Regions from separate parts of the Homo sapiens genome. Here all the other regions are linked to region 1. Evidence: promoter capture Hi-C in 16 types of primary human blood cells and fetal thymus (Javierre and others, 2016). All regions are on one chromosome and are shown on one strand. The core of a region is centred on a gene start or on the middle of the fragment in contact, and the rest is flanking DNA. Distances in the headings are between cores, read along the strand shown. Region 1 holds the start of PTPRK (protein tyrosine phosphatase receptor type K). Region 2 has its middle 53 kb from the start of THEMIS. Region 3 overlaps PTPRK (protein tyrosine phosphatase receptor type K). Region 4 overlaps PTPRK (protein tyrosine phosphatase receptor type K).

Evidence for each region. Contacts are between HindIII fragments. The CHiCAGO score rates a contact against its expected background, and 5 or more counts as called.
Region 2: a fragment that was not itself captured here is called in contact with the fragment with the promoter of PTPRK in region 1 in 1 of 17 cell types (fetal thymus); the score reaches 7.6 in fetal thymus.
Region 3: a contact is called between a fragment that was not itself captured here and the fragment with the promoter of PTPRK in region 1, in 1 of 17 cell types (fetal thymus). The highest score is 6.3, in fetal thymus.
Region 4: a contact is called between a fragment that was not itself captured here and the fragment with the promoter of PTPRK in region 1, in 1 of 17 cell types (fetal thymus). The highest score is 6.9, in fetal thymus.

Annotation. Positions count from the first base shown.
Region 1 is chr6:128,518,722-128,522,411 of GRCh38, reverse strand. PTPRK (protein tyrosine phosphatase receptor type K) reads left to right here and starts at 1,813. Exons shown (of 30, transcript NM_002844.4): 1 at 1,813-2,153. The coding sequence starts at 2,054. RefSeq lists enhancers at 1,451-2,045, 2,046-2,639. The HindIII fragment of the contact is 3,706 bases long and covers 1-2,354 here.
Region 2 is chr6:127,952,432-127,956,121 of GRCh38, reverse strand. No RefSeq gene overlaps it. Among named protein-coding and RNA genes, the nearest start is that of THEMIS, 53 kb to the right of the region's middle. The HindIII fragment of the contact is 7,407 bases long and covers 1-3,690 here.
Region 3 is chr6:127,988,788-127,992,477 of GRCh38, reverse strand. PTPRK (protein tyrosine phosphatase receptor type K) reads left to right here. Exons shown (of 30, transcript NM_002844.4): 20 at 1,087-1,184; 21 at 1,593-1,709. Among named protein-coding and RNA genes, the nearest start is that of PTPRK-AS1, 37 kb to the left of the region's middle. The HindIII fragment of the contact is 1,142 bases long and covers 1,379-2,520 here.
Region 4 is chr6:128,004,685-128,008,374 of GRCh38, reverse strand. It overlaps PTPRK (protein tyrosine phosphatase receptor type K), which reads left to right. Exons shown (of 30, transcript NM_002844.4): 15 at 3,131-3,291. Among named protein-coding and RNA genes, the nearest start is that of PTPRK-AS1, 21 kb to the left of the region's middle. The HindIII fragment of the contact is 8,842 bases long and covers 1-3,690 here.

The sequences.
Region 1 (3,690 bases), core at 564-3,063:
TTTCATGAAATGAATCTTCTATCAGCTGTCCCCCAAAATGGGCAAGGTAAGAATTGTGTGCACTTTGTCCTGGCACTGTGTGAAAATATTTAAAGAAGTTTTTTGTTTGTGTGTTTAAACAAACAAATTACCACGTCATGAACTTCTTTTACATTTCTTACAAGAGTAGAACAGATGAATTAGTATACAGACAGTAGGGTTTTGTTTGTTTTTACTGGGAAAAATTGCTGCTAAATTTTAGGAAGTTCTGCTGTCCTCAAAAAGAAAAATATGTCCCTCAGTTTTTTGTTACCTGGGATCTAGGAATGTTCTCTAATTAAAGAAATGGAATGGTGATGGTGTGTTGAAAGGTATAGGTTAATGAGTTAAAAAAAAAAAATCTACATTGCACCCTAAGGAAGGATGAACTTAACTATGCTGAACTGAATTGACAAGGGTTGAGCTAGTCAGTGTGCTAATGAGCAGGCTACTATTCTCATAGAATTTTTAAAAGTCTTTTCTGCCTGATATGTATGTGTGTATAATATGTATTTATATATGTATATATTTGTGTGTATATTTATTACATTTTTGTTTCCACAGGCTCTGTCATAAGTCTGGTCATTAATAGCATATATTTGATTAAAAGAATATGTGGCTTGGTAAATTATGTGAATGTTATATTAAAATGAATTTCACATTGTCTTGATTTACAAAGGCTAAGATGTCTGAGAAACTGAGAGATGTCAATCAACAGACTATTGTTTTAGCAATTGTACATAACACATAAAAATTCTGAATCAAAGTTATTATGTTATTCAATTGTGACCATACCTATTTTTTGTGACATTTTACAAAAATGAATAAAGTATGCACCATACAGTCTTACCACAGAAGTAAGGCAGGGTGGCATATGGCGAAACCACTTCAAGCTGCTGAAGTAGTTAACTGTGAAATATTTTACTGTCATAATATAGCATTATTTTCTGCCAGATGAATCATTCCGAAGAAGCTGTTTTCATGGTCAGTGTAAAAGTCCTTTTGTTAAATACTTATGTCTTAACTACCTACTAGATATTAAAAAAAACAAAACCACACACACACCAGACCTAGGTGCAAGGAAGGGATAATAAGCCCTGATGCAGTTCTTAGGTGAGAACTGGAAAGGGGCCGGAGGGTTTCAGAGCAACAAGCAAAGTCAGTGAAGCAGAGTAAATCCAAATACTTGGCCAATGACAAATAAACCAGAAAGGAGACACGCCAGCTGTTCACGCTGGAAAGTTACTGATCGTTTATTCTGGTTCAAGTTTTATTTATTCTATGAATAAGGGACAAGTTTTCGATGGGGGTGGGGTGTCTTATTCCTTATTACAAGAATAAGGAACGGGGAGTTTTCAAGGCAGGCGGGTGTTTCCTCAGGGCGCTTCCACACTCCCCTTTCAATCAGCAACCGCTCGGGGGGACCTCCACCTTGGGACGGAACCCCAGGACGCCTCTCCTCGGACGGCGGGGGTTTCTCTGCGCGCGTCCTCGGTCGTCTGGTCGCACGGCTTACCGAACTCTCGCCTCTCAAATTCTGAGTTCTGGAACAGGGCAGCGAGCTGCGCCGGCTCCCCTTTCTCGCTCGCTCCCTCCGAGCAGCGGCTGGCGGCGGGGCCCAGGCTGCGAACAAAGGCGGCGCGGGGCGCGCGGCCGGGGCTGGCGCGCGTCTCTCCGGCAGGAGGCGGTGGCGGCGCCGCGCCCGAGCCCGCATTCCTCAGAAGCGCCCGGAGCCCGCGGGGCGACGTCACCCCCGGCTCCGCCCCCGTCCCTCCCCGAGCAAAGTAACTCTTGACTAACAGGAGCAGCCTCCGCCGAGCATGGAGAGCTGCCGCCGCGGCCGGCCGGCGACGCTGGCGACGCTTTCGCCCCTGAGGTAGTTTGGCGACCGCGAAGAAGGAAAAAGGGCGGGCGGGCGGCTGTCCTCTCACCGTCCTCACCCCGCGAGGCCCGGCCCGCTCCTCCGTCGTGGATTTCGCGGCGATCCCCCCGGCAGCTCTTTGCAAAGCTGCTTGAAACTTCTCCCAAACTCGGCATGGATACGACTGCGGCGGCGGCGCTGCCTGCTTTTGTGGCGCTCTTGCTCCTCTCTCCTTGGCCTCTCCTGGGATCGGCCCAAGGCCAGTTCTCCGCAGGTGAGTGGCCGGGGGGCGTCCCCGACGAACGCCTGGAGTCCTGGGCTCACGAGGGGTGAGCCAGGTCCCCGCTAGGGCTGGGGACAAGGATCGTGGGGAGCTCTCTCTGTCCGGGGGTGGGGAACACAGGGTAGAGGGAGGGCTGTCCCCAGAGTTCGTGCCAGGTGGGACGCGGGGCACCCATTGTTCCTCTCCGAAGCTTGCTCGGGGCTCAGGCTGGCACGGTCTAGCCGGAGAGTGTGGGGACCTGCTGGCTTCGGCGTCTCGCGTGGCCTGCGCCGGGCTAGTGGGGAAGAGAGAAAGAAAAAGTAGTTACGACTCCCGTGACGGCACTCTGTTGCTTGTGGTGCGGGTTTGTTGCTGTCTGCCACTTGGGTGTTTAAACAAATTCCCTGGGAAGCCATTGTCAGAAATGTGGAGATTCGAAGGGACTGACCTCGGCGCGCTTTGCCAGGTGCTTTTTGTCCCGGGAATAACCTCCCCTGACTATTGTCTAACTACTTCCCCGTCCCTCCCGGAGTCCCCTTTTCTCCTCCCCCAGCTCTGGGTTGCTCCCGGGCTTGCCCTGTGCGCTCGGGCACTGCTTGGAGCATGTTCTGTGTGTGTGTTGGCGGAGCCCTGTAAGATGTGTTGAAATGCGGTTCTAAGGACCCACTCTGAGCGTTCATGGGCATCGAGGTCTGGGCGCCTGGTGGAGGAAGCCTGACTCGCGCGTGGGAGCCCGCTCCTCGGGCAAAACCACCGCCAGGCTGGCCCCGCGCTCCCCGGATCCGGCCTGGGGCTCTGGCCCCGCGCTCCCCGGATCCGGCCTGGGGCTGGAAGCGGACTGTAAATGTCTGCCTTCTGCCGGAGAACCCAAAAGGAGACAAGTGGAGCGTCTCGCTGTAGCCCTGGGGGTTCTCGGTCAAGCCGCTCAGAGAAGTCCGTGAACCCTGGCTCTCCCGGTCCCGCCCTCTGTTCCCCTCCAGTTTTGTTATCCTTCGTGTAGGTTGGTTGCTTCTTTCGTTCTCTCCTCTGGGGGCTCTGAAGTTTCACCAGGTGGACGCTGGGGAGCGGGCTCCCGAGCACTTGTCTACCTCCCGCCAGTCCTGACAACTTTTCTGGCCAACCTACCCAGCTTCGCTTGGCTGGCGAGCGCATCTGCTGCTGGGGTTCGCGGTGCAGATGGAGACGCAGTGGTGGCCAGAGGGTGATGGAGAAGACGGGAAAAGCGACAGCCACGCTCCTGGCTGAAGCCGCAGGACGCAAATAACTTACTTTGTACCTGACAGTTTCTCACGTTGTTGTGGAGGCCCTGTTTCCTGGAAATAAACTCAAATTGTTGTTTTCTGGAGTAATCGTTTATTTCCCTTCCATTGCTCTCCTACCCCCGCCCCATTTAGAACTCTGTAAAGGGAGTTAAACAACAGATTCAGGTGGCAGCATGTGTCGTACATTCAGGCAGAGATTATGAAATGGCAGCACGCAGAGGAAAAGCCCTGTATATAATTGATGTACGCAGAGGGTAACAGCTCTATGCAAAAAATAATCCAATGGT
Region 2 (3,690 bases), core at 430-2,929, 570 kb after region 1:
GAATGGGGATATTTTCAGATATATTCAACCCATAACACTAATGTATACAGAACTGCATTCCCAGCTGCAAGAACATCTTTTTCCTCCATATTTATATATCCATAAAATATGGTTTTACTGGATTTTAAATGTTATGTAAATGTTAGACTGTGGGTACCCTGCTGCTGCTTACTGTTTTTCTCTTAATATGTTTTTGAGATTTATTTACATTGGAAATCTAGTTCATTTTAAAAATTACTGTATGATATTTGATTGTGGAGATATAACCTGTTTTATCAAAACTTTCTCTTATGTATGAATGAATGTTATTCTCTATTTGCCTCTTAAGCATCAGTCTCTGCCCTTCTCTACTTGGCTCTCTGTTATGGGAGGCTAACTTCTTGAATCTGCATCACCCGGGGTCCCTTGCTTTCTGCCTTAGAGTTGGTTTGGCCAAGGCAAGGCACCAACAAAAGACCAGCTGGTGGGAGGAAAGGGAGGTGGTACATTCCCCATACTGGTCCACATTTTTTATAATGGCTGCAATTCCTCTATCAATGTCCTGGGAGGGAGCCATTTGCCCCATAACTTCAGCCCTCCAGGTTCCAGTAACACTGCTTTATTCTTGTCTCCATTCAGGCCCAGGGATGATAACTTATAGCTTTGTTACTTCTTGGGTGCTTTACCAACCCTTATTGGTACTACTGTAAATAGTCTTTTCAACAACAACAACAACAACAAAAATCCCTCAATTAACTATTTGAGTATGCCATCAATTTCCTGCTGAACTCTTGACTTATACTGTAATTGGTTCCAGAAGTTCCCCTAAAACACAGTTCATCAAATCGTATATGGAGTTGAGTCACTTATATATTTGATGAGTTGCATAGACAGACTTTTTGCCCTGGGGAAATTGAAACCTGGAAATCTGAGGCAAGAAATGGCTGGTACCTTTACTAAAACACATCAGCTTCTGGCATGCAATATGAACCTACTGACCTAGCAAATGCTTTCTTTTTAGTTTCCATCAGTAACTATAACCTGTAACACCTCACCTTTGCCCAGAGGGTCAGCAGTACAACTTTGCTGTCTTTTATCAAGACAATATCTGATCTCTGTCATGTTGAGGTCTAGACTAGAGCAGTGATCCTCAAAGTGTCATCTGTGAACTGGTTTCTGGTCCATGTTTCTTATTTATCCCCAATGAATTAGGAAGTTTGCACCAGAATGTGAACTATACCACTAAGCACACCGTTTGGCTCAGCTGACAATTTTTTTCTTAGAAAGACTTTTTTGATGAAGGAGTAGTGCATTGATTTATTTTCTGGTGGAAGCTCCTTACCTCACTGTTGCAGGCACGTACTTTGAATAGCTGCTTCCTGGTCTAGAGGGAGCTTGATTATCTTGACACCCAGTAGAATGCCATGTTGGAGCATATTAATTTTACCATGTCATCAGGAAGAAACTAACAACCTGATGCCTTAGGAAGACAAACACATGACCAAGGAAGGGAGACAAACCATGTGAAAGTTCATAGACTTGTGATCATATGAAGTTTCTAGTGTGACAATGCTGTGAAAATGGCAGAATATTCCTTTTCAAATTAGAAACAAGTTGTCTCACTTTGCACAGTCCACAAAAGAAAGAGCTCTAGCATTCAGTATGTCTCATTGAAACTGGGACGCGACAAATTCCATATTTGGATATACTACTCTGGCCCAACCACCAGGTAACCTATACAGCTACCTGTTCCAAGGGATATTTAGAGCAAGGTGGGGTTATGCAGCAGGTCCAGGCTTCTGTGCAAGCTGACCCATCACTTAGACCTGTGACCCAGCAAAGTGAATTGTACTTGAAGTATTTGTGGCAGAAAGGGATAAAATCTGTTGCCAGCAACAATGACATCACCAGACCGCTGAGGTTTTAGAGTAAGGCTAATTCCTCTTCTTCAAACTACTATCCTCCATTGGTAAGGCTGCTTTTAGTTTGTTTCTTGGCCCTGGTGGAAAAGAAGCAGATGATGGTGGTATGGAACACCAGCGATATAGGTATGGAGCTACCATTAAGAACTGAGTGCTATCTGACCCATAGAATTACGAAGTGGGATGTGTGCAGCCGTTTTTCGTGATTAAATGTAACTTATACATATGAATATAAGACTGAATTTGAAAATGTGAAGAAACCACAAGTATATTTCAGGAGTGGTGGCTCAGAATCCTCTAGCATCTGCTCCTGCTCTTCACCTCCTCTTCCTGAACTCACATCTATGATACCATTGAGATGATAAAACAATTGTAGTTTTGTTAGTTAGGTACAAGACCCTTCTTGTTTTGCAGGGTCTAGACAAAGGGTTGGCAAACAACTGCCTATGGGCCAAATCTAACCTGCCACCTGTTTGTCCTGATCACAAATTAATAATTTTTACATTTTAAAATGGTTTAGCGGGGCCAGGCGCAGTGGCTCATACCTGTAATCCCAGTACTTTGGGAGGCCAAAGTGGGTGGATTGTCTGAGGTCAGGAGTTCAAGACCAGTCTGGCCAACATGGTGAAACCCCGTCTCTACTAAAAACACAAAAAATTAGCCGGACATGGTTGCAGGCACTTGTAATCCCAGCTACTCGGGAGGCTGAGACAGGAGAATTGCTTGAACCTGGGAGGTGGAGGTTGCAGTGAGCCGAGATCATGCCACTGCACTCCAGCCTGGGCAACAGAGAAAGGCCTCAGCTCAAAAAAAAAAAGAAAGAAAAAAAAAAGGTTTTGGGGAAGAATCAAATGAAAACTAGGAGTTTGTAATGTGTAATCATTATCCAAAACTCAAATGTTAGTGTGGGTGCAATCTATACTACAATAGCTAAAGCCTAAAATATTGACTATCTGGCTTTTTATAGAAATGTTTGTCAAACTTGTTCTAGAAGCTGCCGAACTACATTGCCTAAAATGCTTACCAGCAGATTAGATTCTGGTAATGAGAGAGGTTTGCAAGAGATTTAGAAGGAAGAAAAGAAGCAGAAGGTAGTAATCTCCTACGGCGTGTAAGAGAACTGCATGGGCTTTGGCAGATGGCTCATAGGAGGTTTTGCCAGCAGCTTTTAGGCCTTAGCTTACAAATTCACCACAGAGGCTCAGCCCAGATCACAAATGACTCCTGCACTTTATGGGCTCCTGAATTCTGATGTCAGTTTCCTCCCAGGCTTTGCTCTTCCTCCCTTCCAAAGTCTTGTGTAAGTCTTACATTCCTATATTTAGTCCCTTCCTCCTCGACATACCTAAAGTGGGGTATGTCTTTTTTTTTTTTTTTTTCAGTTGGAGTCTTGCTCTGTTGCCAGGCTAGAGTGCAGTGGTGCTATCTCGGCTCACTGCAACCTCCACTTCCTGGGTTCAAGCGATTCCCCTGCCTCAGCCTCCTGAGTAGCTGAGACTAGTGGCGCACGTCACCACACCCAGTTAATTTTTTGTATTTTAGTAGAGATGGGGTTTCACCATGTTGGCCAGGATGGACTCGATCTGCTAACCTCGTGATCCACCCGCCTCGGCCTCCCAAAGTGCTGGGATTCCAGGTGTGAGCCACCACGCCTGGCCTAAAGTGGGTATGTCTTATTTATTTATTTATTTATTTTTGAGATATGGTCTCACTCTGTTGTCCAGGCTGGAGTGCAGTGGCATGAACATGGCTCACTGCAGCATCGACCTCCTGTGCTCAAACAATCCTC
Region 3 (3,690 bases), core at 700-3,199, 530 kb after region 1:
TTTTAATTAAAAGTGAAAGAAAAGCTGGTAGTGGTTATTATGATTTGATCCTTGTTACACAGATAGGTCAGAGCACTAGTCAATAGTGCCAGTCAGAGGAATTACTCATTTTTGAGGAAAGGAAAAAGAAGTCTCATATAAGAGGCCTGTCTTCTTGCAGCAAGTTTGTTAGTAGTACCCAAGACCAATATTGTTATAATGAGCTGTTATACTGAGCAATTTTTTGACGAGTCAAGACTGAGACAAAACAAAGAGATGGAATTTAGTCAAGTTAATTCTTCATGGAATATAATAAGACAGTAGAGAGATCTTGTTATAGTGGTACACTGGGGAGTAAAAGTATCCAAATAACAACAACAAAAAAAGCATCTGTAGTTATCTCTCTAAATTGACTACTGGCCCTCAGAAGAGAAACCTGTACATCTTTTTTATATAAAAGGAAAGTAAAACAAAAGCTAGGTTTACTCTTTTAACAGGGGTCATTTTTCTGTGTTTTCACATATCTTTGGAGTAATTGAGTTCAGTTGTGTACTCTTTAAAGTTAGAAAGATCGACCATAGTGGTGAACAATATTCAGTTTTATGGTATTCGGTAGAGAACAGCCCAGCACATGCTTTTGCAGTTTGGAGATATTATGATAAGATTAGGATATGTCCTTACGTGTAAGGATATGTTTTTATTGATCCCTAAACATGCACTATTTATAAATAGTGGGCACTTATTTAATTGGTAATATATGCTGTCTGGTTGATGGTGGTATAAGAGTTCTATTTTTTACACATATTTGAAGATGCATTAAAGTGACTTAGTGACAAATATAAATACCCAAGAAACTAGTGATAGTTTCTTCTAAATTGGGAAGTGTAGAGGGCAAATTGAAAAAAAAAAAAAAAAAACTTGTATATGCCTGTGTTTTTGCCTATTGTGGGAATTTAGATATGAACTGAATTTAAGTATTTTCAGTGACATTTTGTGTTAGACCTTTTTTGGAATTACTTAGTTTACTCTGCTTCTTATCTTAGCTAAACTTCTTACTAACTACAAAATTCCTTTGATAACATAATATTCAAATTAATTTCTTTGTAGGTCCCGTTCATGAAACAGTGTATGATTTCTGGAGGATGATTTGGCAAGAACAATCTGCTTGCATTGTGATGGTTACAAATTTAGTTGAGGTTGGCCGGGTAAGAGGAAGAAAAAGAATTTTTTTGTCATAAAAATGAACATAGTTGAGAAGCAACATGTAAGACACTCAAAATAGAATATCATCCAATTGTTTAAAAAAAATTATAGGCACAACATTTTAGTTGAGTACTTCTAAGTAGACCTTGACTGGCTGAAAAATTATTTGATTTCTCATTGAGTAATAAAATAAGCTTTAATTTTGTACTGGAATCTAACTGCATTATCAGGCTTGTATATTTTTTGTGAGACTATATAAACTCTGTTTATTGTATAATAGATTTTTTTCTCATTTATAGATTTTTAAACTGAGTTTTAATTGTGACAAGGAGTTATTGCTGGAATTAAATCACCTTGGCTAATTAGTATTATATATTCAGGTCTGTCTATATATTCTTTTTGTCACTTAGGTTAAATGCTATAAATATTGGCCTGATGATACTGAAGTTTATGGTGACTTCAAAGTAACGTGTGTAGAAATGGAACCACTTGCTGAATATGTAGTTAGGACATTCACCCTGGAAAGGGTAAGTACTCTAAAATTCTATTTTAAAAAGTGATATCAAAACTGCTTTTTCTCTTAAAATCTTTGCCAAGTTCTGTTTTGATGATGCTATAAAATCCATTCATTCATGTATTCATTCCACAAATGTTTATTTGAGAGTTTACTATGTGCCAGACATGTTTCTAAACCTTGGGACACATGTTAAAATCGCCTCGTGTGGATCTTAGAGCCGATTGAATTAAGACAGCAATAAAAATAAATAAATCAACTAATATATCATACATCATGACAAGTGATATAGAGAAAAATAATGTTGGGGAAGGAAGTAGGGAATATTATTTAGGCAGGGTAAGAAATGGTTTACAATTCTGAAAGGATGATCAAAGAAAAACTCATTGTTGAGAAAGTAATATGAGTAGAGACCTGAAATAAGTGAGGGAGTGACGGGTTATGTCCAGGGCAATAATGTTTCTGACAGAGGGGAGAGTCATTTCAGAAGCCTAGAGGCATGTGTAAAGCTGTTAGAATGCCAGACAGTCACCAGGCCAAGATGTGCAGATATCCATAAGTGAAGGGGAAAGAAATACAAAATGAAGGCAGAGAAATCACAAAATTGGATAAGTGGTGCCTTGTAGGCCATGATGATTTTAGTTCATACTAAAATTGAGTTAGGCTGCCATTGTAGGGTTTGTGAGCTCAGGGATAACATGGTCTGAATTTTATTTCTAAAAGGATCACTCCAAGTGTTACATTGCAAAGAATAACGTAAGGTGGCTGGTGTAGTAGACTAAAGTGAAATATAGTAACAGTGAAATACATTTTGTGGTAAAGCTTGGTAGATTTGACCACACAAAATTGTGAAATTACCTGTGGCACAAAAAAATATCAAAGGTACATACAGACAGAAGAACCTTGCGATTGTTTATTAATGTCCTTAATTTATAATGTTAATACCAGTAGAAGAAAAAAAAAAAAACTAGAATCTCTGAAGAAACACAATTGTTAACAAGCCTATTAAAAATGTTTAACCTAGTGTACTTATATACCATTTTGTCCTTCCAAATCAGCAAGAACTTTAAAAAAGAATAATCCTCATTGATTGTTAGAGTATGTTGAAACATATTTTTATACATTACTGATCATAGTTAAATCGCTACAAACCTTCTTTAAATCAATAAAACAGTATATCTCCAGAGCTTTAAAATGTTTATGTCCTTTGAGAAGTTAACTTTCATGAATCTCTCCTAAGGAATTTATTTAAAATACAATGACTTCATTTATAGTATTAAAAACTTATAGATAACCATAAATGCCCAACAATAGAGAAATAATTGCATAGTATTTTATAAAAATACTTGTGAGTTATCCTACCAACATGAAAAAATTAGGCAAAATATTAAGTTGAAATAGCATTATACAGAACAACATAATCATGATTATTGTAACTGTAAAATATGTATGAAAATTTCTTAGACAAATCAAGTAGAATAAAATAAGCAATTGATATGGGAGATTTCAGAAAGAACCATTAAGCTTGATTTAATGAATAACTAGCTCATATTATTAAAAAAGAAATGTGGAATATGCAGTCTCTTAAGTTCATACAAGTCTTGTAAAAATCAATGATGAACTTAGTAATAAGGAAAACCTGAATACATAACAAAAAGTTGAGATATTGCCAAAATCCAATAGAAAGCAATGATGACAAACTGCTGACCAGTGACCCCAGAAATTAGCCTATTAGAAGTCACCAAATCCTCTTCTGAATAATCCTTGAATGATTTCCTCAAAACTAAAATTATATTATATAGATCAATAGTTTTACATCAAAATTTACCTCATTATTCTGTAAGAAAAATTTATACTCATAAGTGATTTCTGTTTTGAAATGTGCTCTGAAATCATGTGAAAAATTATAACATTGGAAAATCAGAAAAAGTAGAATAGAACAAAGGAAAAATTAAATATAAAAAAGAAACAAATGAGAAAAAAGAAAAAGCTTG
Region 4 (3,690 bases), core at 327-2,826, 510 kb after region 1:
TTGGGTTAATGCTACAATTTGGAAGGACTTTTAAAAAAAATATTTATAAGCAAAAGTACAGTCCTAAAATAGTTTGGTGTATAGAAGTGGTTGTGATCAGTGAATTCTATTGAAAAATATAATAAGTGATGTTGCTTATATTACATTAAATTATCTAGTTTACTATTATAGTTATTTTATACTTGAAATAAAGCATTAACATTATAGATAAGACTCATACTACATGTTTTAATGATTCCATCAGAGTTTATTTTAATATATTGCCTCTTTACGATTATCCCCTGGAGATATATATGTTGGAGAAGACACATCTGCATTAGAAACATTAGGTATGCATTATAGTGTTTTGTGTTAAATTAGCTACATACGTGCTTTCCCCAAATAGTGCTTTCTCTTGCTGTTGTCTCCCTCTGTGGTTGGAAAATACATCATATGTGAGGCAAAAGTTTTAAGTATTTTAGCAATAAAAATTTGCCAGTAAAGATCAATAAAAATCACCAAATGTAACCTTCAGACCTTATGTCTCTGTTTAGTTTAAATTTGTATTTGGAGACTTAAGTAAACAATTTAGAGAGTAAAGTTAACTAAACATTGCTTCACAATGTTCTGGTCACTTCAGATTGGATGTAAACATGAAAGTGGCTTCTGATTATATCCTCATTCAGCTAGAATTGGGCTAAACTATTCAGTTTTATTTGTTATTTATTTGAAAACATTCATTTGTCTTGATAACTCTCCCTATCCAGGCCTCTGATTTAGCAATAATGAAAAAATTGAAAAATTAACCTCCTAAAGTATGCTAAAACCATCACTAAGCAAGATTTTGGGGGAAGGTAAAATGCTCTGACAGCTCTCTAAAATTGTGTAATATGACAACTTGATTTTCTGGTTCATATATTAAATGGTTAAGTTAATGAGCCTCTCTATTAAAATATTTAACATTTGAGCTTTCATAATTATGCTTTGATTGTCTTTTGATAGAAAGTATGCTAGGGCTTTTGCTTCTGTTCCTCACCATCACCTTTATACCCAGGAAAAGCTGCACTTTTAAAGATAGACCAGGTTTCATTATTTAGATATGTTACCTTCTAATATATAGTATTTATATCTACATTACTTGAATTTCTTACTTACCAAAGCAATTTTGTAATGACTTTTACTCATATGTAGCGTGTCACACATGTACCATGTATGCTTTAATCACAAGTATGTTTATCATACATATAAAAAAGTATAGATATAGCAGCATTGCATTGGATATTATCATCAAGTATAGCTTAAAACTATTAATATAAAATGTTTCCCTTTTAATATATAAATTTATAATAAAAATAATGGAAAAGGAAATTACTTTAGCCTCTTATCTACATTTTAGTGGGAAATTGTTAAGTTTGATTTTATCCCTCACTGGGATGAATACATGTAGATATATTTCTTATGCGGAAAACAGTTCCATGTCTTTTTGGTTGTTTTGCAAAAGAATGGTGTATAATTCAATTGAGTAAAGTTTTACAGCTAAGGATATGTATAAAGTAAGTTTTTAGGCTAAGAAAAGGGATATTGCATCTTTCAAAACGCAATGTCATTTTTTAATTTAATCGCTATTCAATTATTTCCAAATGTATGCCATTTTTTCATTGGTTGTGTATTATATTTTACATGCACAGCATGAACACATTAATAACTCAAACATAAATTTGAAATTATGTTTCAATACAGTAAATGTTTGTGTATGATATCATGTTCACATGCATCTACTGTAGAAGTATCTGTGTATATATAGTATATGGTATATATGTATATTCACATAACATATGTATATACCTATGTACCATTAAGATATAATAACTTGTTTGTAGAAATTTAGGTGTTATTCTGTATATATGATATATTAACATAATAGATCTTTATGTTTTGTATCTAAAGAAAAATAATCTATATAGTACACAAGTTCTATGCACAGCTGTTCCATCTGTCATATTTAGATAATGGATGATATTATGCTTAACTGCATGTTGAAAATACACAATCCATTTAATTTTTCAATATTTTGGCAATAAGAAATACCAGCATGTTATTTTTTCCAAATTATGTATTTTAAATTTTATTTTTATATTGCATATCTGTCTGTTTAATTGCATGGCAAAAAAAACTAACAATGCATGAGCAAATTGAAATGCAAAGCAAAAAAAACATGAATTTTATTTTATTTTATTTTATTTTTTAACGCACATTTTTCTGCTTTATTGAATGTGACAGAGTCACGCTTTTCATTCACCATTGCTTCTCTTTTTCCACTGTCTGTGATTTGCTTGCCAGGAGGAGCTACTATTCTTACTCCTACTACCTGTAAGTAGAAAATGGGTGATGTACAACTTTACGTGTGTTAAGGATGCAGTATCCCTTTTCAAAAACAAAACAGAATGCTTGCAATTTTGGTGACATTTCAAAAAAAAAGTTTTTTCAGACTCTAAAACTATAAACTTTATCTATCACCTATTTTGCCAATCTTTTTAAAAAGGGATATTGTATTTCTGTATGTCCAGCTACTTTTAATTTAGTTATAATTTCCATAAGTAGCTTTAGTCTAGAGCCAAAAACATAATTTATTTACTAAAGTTAAACCTGTACCTTATCTTAGCAATATGGCACTTCACTCATCTGGTAAATGTCTGTTTTAATTTGGTGGCTACAGTAAAACAGACTTGAAAAGTTAGTCATGTTATTTCTAAAAGGAACTAAAAGTTGATCAAAAGAATTAATTACCCAGGAGTATCAAAACTTGGCTTTAGCTTGAATATTTATTGAATTACTCTAGTAAGGAGGTATTTATTTTGCTTTTAATAAATATAATTATATTTTATGATATTTAAGAGAACAGGAAATGATGAGAGATTTGGATTGACAGCTTGAATATTGAAATATGCATCTGACAAAATACTTTTATAGCAAGGAGCAAATATAATTGTTTGAATGTCAAACTTAATTCCTGAAATTGTGACCAGTGCTTGGGGTTTCTAAACCATGTTTGTAACATTATCCTCGGGCTCACCTGGACTATTTATTGCTGGTGTTAACTCTCCTGCAAGCCTCAAACACTAAGGATGCCCTTTTGTATTTGCCTTGGCAGCAAACTTGCTAAAAAACGCAAAGATGCCATGGGGAATACCCGGCAGGAGATGACTCACATGGTGAATGCAATGGATCGAAGTTATGCTGATCAGAGCACTCTGCATGCAGAAGATCCTCTTTCCATCACCTTCATGGACCAACATAACTTTAGTCCAAGATGTAAGTTTTTCATTAAAATTTTAATAAATGATGTTACAACTCATTTCACTTTGAATTCTACACGATACCTTTTGAGTAATGAGAGAGAGTAGGAAAGTGAGGGGAGAAGCAGCTAGAAAGAAGAGAAAGAGATGGAGAATATTATGGAATTTACAAGAAGGATTCTCATCAAGATTGATACTGGATTTAGTTTAACTTCAAACTCTATGAATTTTATTACTGTATCACAAGGGATATTCCAAACATATACCACTCAGTCCATAGCACGTGTCATTGCTTTAAGTGGAAATACACGATTGCCTACAAAAAGTTAGTTCATGTCAGAATTTATAATTCTTTTTCCATTTGCATCTTCCTTTGTGTAAGATGAAAGTCTCTTTTGCGATAAGAGGAAACAGT